Linked DNA regions of Homo sapiens: region 1 is linked to region 2. Evidence: promoter capture Hi-C in human tissues and cell types (Jung and others, 2019). All regions are on one chromosome and are shown on one strand. Each heading gives the region's core, a stretch centred on a gene start or on the middle of the fragment in contact. The rest is flanking DNA. Distances are from core to core; before and after follow the strand shown.

What was found. Contacts are between HindIII fragments. The study calls those that stand out against the background at their distance.
Region 1: a contact is called between a fragment that was not itself captured here and the fragment with the promoter of TCHH in region 2, in 3 of the 25 tissues and cell types used here (H1 embryonic stem cells, adrenal gland and thymus).

Annotation. Positions count from the first base shown.
Region 1 is chr1:152,070,197-152,073,390 of GRCh38, reverse strand. No RefSeq gene overlaps it. Among named protein-coding and RNA genes, the nearest start is that of TCHHL1, 17 kb to the left of the region's middle. The HindIII fragment of the contact is 3,370 bases long and covers 163-3,194 here.
Region 2 is chr1:152,113,734-152,116,791 of GRCh38, reverse strand. TCHH (trichohyalin) reads left to right here and starts at 1,348. Exons shown (of 3, transcript NM_007113.4): 1 at 1,348-1,401; 2 at 2,681-2,849. The coding sequence starts at 2,712. The HindIII fragment of the contact is 12,190 bases long and covers 1-3,058 here.

The sequences.
Region 1 (3,194 bases), core at 598-3,097, 44 kb after region 2:
CAAGGAACAACAAGGAGGATAGTATGGTAGGAATGTCATAAGCAATGATGGTGACAGTGGGAAAAGAGGAGGTCAGCGAAGTGTGGACCCAACCAAGTCACCAGGGAAGGCTCCCAGGAGAAGATGGAGCTTGGCCAGCAGGGATGGGCCTGGTTCCTCTCAGGCCGAAAGGACCAGCATTAACAAAGGCATGGAGGCAGGCGAGAGGGTGTGGTGCTCAGAGAGCCAGGAGTACAGTCAGTCCTATTCCAGATATGGGCAAACAGGAGAGAAGCCTGGATGGTGAGGAGGGCCTGTGATGGAGTCTCCTAAAAACAGCCATAAACCTTATTTCTTGAGGGCTTGTCAAAGCACTGAGATAGGAGTTGCAACCCCAGCACTGTCCTTTCCACAAGGACCCATCCTAGGCACCATTTTAAGGAAAGAAAGTAAAAATAGAGAAGAGAATTTGAAGAAAAGATGGAATTCTTCCATCACTATCGATATATGTCTGGGTGTGTATGTTGCCTAAAGGGGCCAGCAGGCTTCATGACAACATTAGGATTGTCCAGAACCTTCAGAAAATATCACATGCATTTCTTCCTGACCTCCACAAACCACTGAAGGAGAAACCGGGGAATGTTTCAGAGCCAACTCTGAGGGTGGCTGATGACACACAACTACCCCTGAAGGGACCCCCAAGAAGGTGGACAGGAGTTTCTTTGAGGTCCATGTCTGGGCAAGTGGAGCATGAGGATGAGGCTACCTGGAGGCTGAGACAGGGAGCTTGAGGCAGACAGGAAGCCTCTCAGGAGCAATGCTTCTTTGCTGAGCCCTTTAGATCAAGCTTAAAGCTCAGGCGTTTTTGTAAAGCCATGAGAATATTCTGGTTTCCACTGGGTGGGTTGAGGTGGTTTTGAAACACAGAATCTGAAACTTGCCCAGCCGAGTTACTAGCTCTATTTGAGTAAACTGCAGGACAATAATTTTTCTCAAACAAGCGTTTAGTTAACTGTTCCTCACCATTCCCCTCACTTCTCCATGATTCTATTCCAGGCCTGGGAGTGGTGTGGAATCAGATCAAGGAGTTCATGTGGTTTCTGGTCTCAAGAAGCATATGATCTGGCCCAGGAGATGAGGCTAAACCACAGAAGAAAACCATGTGGAGACTTGCGTACCATGTCCACCTTGGTTTTCTCTACTTCTAAAGACGGAAAAGCTCAGAAAGAAAAACACCAAACTGATAATGGTCATTGCCTCTGAGAAAAGTAAAAGGGAATCAGGAGAGACAGTAGTAGTCAAAGAAGTCTTAGATGTCATCAAGTAATGTTTCAATTTTTTCAAGGATCAGGAACGTATGTATTATTTGTGTATAAATAAAAATTACTTTGAGATCTATAATTACTTCCATATGTTTTAATCACAAACAAGAAAATCATACCCCATACTGATTTGGGTCTTACTTAAAATCCTTAACAATCATAGTTTCAGAAAAAGGTCCTGATACATAAGGAAAATCAGTTAAATGTTAACATTCTTTGGCCACTGGGTTTATTATCTTCTTCTAAGAAAGACACAAGGGATGAGAATTTTCTGCTTTTTTCCATTTTCTGATCAAGAAAAGCTTGACTGAGCTGACCAAGAACATGTCAAGGATCTGAGAGTCCCCCGCCATGCCCCAGTTCATTCAGTTACATCCCTTCCTAATTGGGAACATGTTTAGGGGAGCCTACATTTCTGTAATTACTGGCCCCAGTGTATTTTTAAAAGCCTCATTCAGATGGAACAAATTCTTTGCATTTAATCATGCTGAACCTCATAATAAACATAATAACTGGGATTTGCACGGTGCTTTTCTTCAGAATGAGCTTAAAACACATTATAATCCAGTGCTTCCCTGAGCCACACCGTATCCTTATGACACATCCAAGAAATGGTGACCACTAGATCCCACTGCTGAGGCTCAGAGGGATTTGGTAAGATGCCTGAGGTCACAGAGCAGGCAAAGTCCAAATGTGCACTCAGGATAGCCACCCCAGCAGCAACTCCTCCAATCACCAAGCTTCTCCTACAGACAACTTGATGCCTTCAAATGACTCTGGCAGTCTCCTCTTATCTGTAATCATGGCTGTGGACACTTTCCAGGAAACTCCTCCCAGGCAGTGTCAAGACAAACCTTGACGCTGAGGGGCAAAGACCACGTCATCAGAAGAGTGTCACCACAGAAGTCATTCTGTCACCATTGCACATGGACTCTGGGTCAGAAAATGTCCTGTTTGTACAGGCAGTGTGGGTGGTAAGCATGGGCCCTGGCACCAAGCAGGCCTCCCCATTGTGTGACTATGGCAGGCTATCGCCTGGTGTGGACACACAGTAAGCGTCTCTTTCCCTTCTCATAGCAAGAACTGGATGCATTCATTTTCAATCTACTTGTCTTTTATTTTCCCTGATAGAAACTAATAAATTTTTAGGTAAAAGAACGAAAGGGAAGATCAAACTGAATGGAGACTTCAGGTCTGAAACAAATGGGGTGGGAATAGAGAGGTAGAAGAGACAGAGGTAAGAAAAGGCACACAAAGAAAGGGACAATGAGAAACAGAAAGAGATTGAAATGTTGAAAGGGGGGAAGACAAAAGGAAGACGGAAAAGAGAACAGAGAGAGACCATCAGAAAATGAGAAAGAGTGGAGAAAAGCAAGAAGGCCCAGGAATCAGATGAGCCAAACTCAGGAGAGACGGGCAGCAGACCAGGTGTGTCAGCAACAGCAGCCCGGAGACCACAGGCAAACCCAGAAGCTACAGGTCTGGCTGCCAAAGACGATTTACCAAGAGGGTGGGGAGACATTTGCACAAGGATAATTCCTCTCAAAAGCAAGGCTTTTCAAAGCAAGAATTATAATTATCTCTGTTACTCTTATTAATCACTCTAACGGCAACTAATGACCACACGGAGCCAGTTCATCAGGCTCCTGCCCTTTAGACACACAGGGAGAAAGACCTGCCTCCTCCTCCTTCAGTAGTCACCCATGCCTTGGGCTGTCTGAATACGGGCAAGAAAGAGTTTCCTACACAAATTCAAAAATAATGAAATATTATTGAGTCAAGTATCTAGAATATTTCCTCATAGAAACTATTTTGTTTTGTTTTGTTTTGTTTTGAATAAATAATACACTTTAGACATTCTAGAAAAATAAACTCCCCAGGGCCATGGGGATG
Region 2 (3,058 bases), core at 99-2,598:
CTTATAATTGTCTTCCCATTCCCTGTCACTTCTACCTTCCTCTGTACCCCACATCTAGGATGGCAGCAAGTGAGGGGGCAAATAGAGTTCAACTCCATTATCATTTAGACCAATCTGCACATAAAGAAATAGCCATCAAGATTTAGATTCCAAATTTTCACTCATGCCATTGAAGGACGTTCAGTTGCCTCAAAATTCAGAAAACCAACACTTGCCTCTGTTGGACAAAGGAGGAGACAAAAGTGCAGAGAAGCCATTGAATCATTTAATAGTCTTCATAAATTATGAACCAAAGTTTCATATAGTCTGAAATGTAAGGAAGGAAGTCACTGACAACCATGGATAAAATCCAATTCCTTACAATAAAACAGCACTGAAATTTGCAAATGATCAACCAGATTGAGAAAGCCCTGATGGATATAATGGGCTAGAATGACCAATTACCTCAATGTACTTCCAGGAGAAGCAGACTCAAGTGTTTAGGTGTCATAATCATTAGTAACTTAGGCTGAGCAGGATGATTATATCTACAATAATACATTACACCAGCTCTTTTTCCCCAGGGGCATCAATATGCTAATGAGAAAACTAATGAACAAACTTCATTTAGGTTTAATGTCTCTAAGAATGAAATTTCACAGATTTCAAGTTTTCTTATGAACGGTTTAATAAAAATATATTTCCAAGGTACCCTTCCAAACTTTACTGAGGAGGCAGTCCCCAATCTGTAGGAAAACCATCATAAGACCCGGGAGACAAATGTAAAAATTTTTCCCACCTGCATTTTTAGAGAAGAAACTAACCAATTCTTTACAGCTCTCTCATTGCCCTAGAATTGAAGCAACTGCTTCTGGCAGGGCTTATGAGCAGCTCACCATGGACTGTCACATCCCATGGAGAAATTAATTGGTTTTCATCACTTTATTTCAAAGTTTCTGCTTAATCCCAAACTAGAGATTGTATCTTTTATAAAGCAAATGGCTTAGAGTTTACTCCTTTGTAATGAAGTAATAATCAATTAAGATTGTGAACATTTAATACCTTTGTTTTATTATTTAATTTACTTTTAACAATTTAAGAAAATTGGAGATTCTGCCAAATATTCTACCCTCCCATGTTAGGTGGGGCTGGTACCCTGACTGTCAGGAGGCAAGGTCTGTGAACCTCGTGCCAAATAGCTACGTGAGCAAATAGTGAGATAAACAAGCCATTTGTGGAGACAGAGGTGGAGCTGGGCTTGGTTAGGAATGAATCAGGCCATCCCACAGAGTGGGTGTCTCCTTCCCAAGTTGCTTTCCAGGGCACAATTAAAACCCCTATAAAAGGCCCAGCTCCCAGTTACCCAGTACACTTGCCTGTGGTGTCAGCAAGCACTGTCGACTTCTTCCTCTGGTGAAGTGGGTAAGTCCCATTCTGTGGGATCGTGGTCTTCTTTATGATTCTCCATTTTTATAGCTATTTCAGATGTTGGGATATGGGGGGAGGTTCCATGTGCCAGAAGGTATCAGTATTTTGCAGGGATAAATAAACTATCACTAACTCTATCCCATCTTCTTATGGTTGGAGCCATCACTTGAACTGAAGCATGACCCTTCTCCTTGGGCTCTGAACTCTATACTTCTGCACATCAAGGATGATCATGTGTGGCTCTGATAGGGTTCATCTTCCTAAAAACTGCTATCTCAAAAGTTTGCCAGCCTTCTGTTCTCTTTTACATTGGTTCTACCTAATATGGGCCATCTTCATACAGTCACAGCATTTAAGGTACTGGAGTTGAGAAGTACATAAAGAAGTCAGCTAGATGAACGACTACACTTATCCCACCAGCAAAGCCATTCCATGTATTCTTATAACATTGATCTACTGCTGGCTAATGTTTTATAAAAAGCCAAGATTCCAATGATGCATTTGGGTTTAACAAAACCAATATCATTCACAGTTTTCTGGATTCCGTTTGGTTTAGAAAGGACCTCTCAGAAGCTTTCAATACTTCAATATCCGAATATCTTACTATATCTGAGTTGAGGCAGGTAATATACAGTCTCTGTTTTCTGCATTTGTGTATCTGAATGTTACAATGCCATCTTTTGACTAGGAAGAAGTACTATTTAATCTTAGAATTGCTGACTTACAAATTATATTCTATAAGAGTTCCTAAATCCTTTATGGACTGTAATGTTGAGGAATCATTCATATTCCCTTTTCATTGTTCTATTTTCTACCAACTGTTTTGCTGACATGGCCTCTATCCACTTTAAGATACTCTCAAGTCTTCCTTCACCTTTTGGCTTTTACCTGTCCTCTTCGCTCAACTTTAAAGGAAGGTGTGTAGACATATATAAAATTTTAATTTCTGCACTCTTCTCTTAATTTTCTACTCTGAAATACGGTGGAGAGCTGGAAGAAAGACAGAAGAAAAGGGCATAGATAATCCACATTGGGTGGACAATCAAAAGCTGACAACAGGATAGTCTGAAGATGATTCCCTGGCTTGGAATTTCTCAGGATCGCTCTTTCTCTTTCTGATACAATATTCAAATATTAAAGTGCTCTGAAAGTCCAGGTTGAAATTACCGCTATAAATTCAAATTATTTAGGGATCTGCCTGAAATAGTGTGAATGAAGCCTTCCCAAAAGCAGAAACGGGATTTTGATTCTGGATCTTATTTTATTGTTCTAGGTTTACTTGAACTTGAAGGAAAGAAAAAAAAATGTCTCCACTTCTGAGAAGCATCTGTGACATCACTGAAATTTTCAATCAGTATGTCTCTCATGATTGTGATGGAGCAGCATTAACTAAGAAAGACCTGAAGAACCTCCTTGAAAGGGAATTTGGAGCTGTGCTTCGGGTAAGAACTAACAAGAAAATGAGATCTATTGACTTGAGGCTATGAGATTTATTCTCAGAGGAGACCAGAGCAAGGAATGGTGGTTTTATATTCATTTTACACCACAACAGGTCTACACTACATCCCCCATTCATTTCTGAGTCAAAAGGTACTTACTTGACATTGTAGTCTGAATAATAAAGTATTTCATGTACTTGATGGCATGGCCA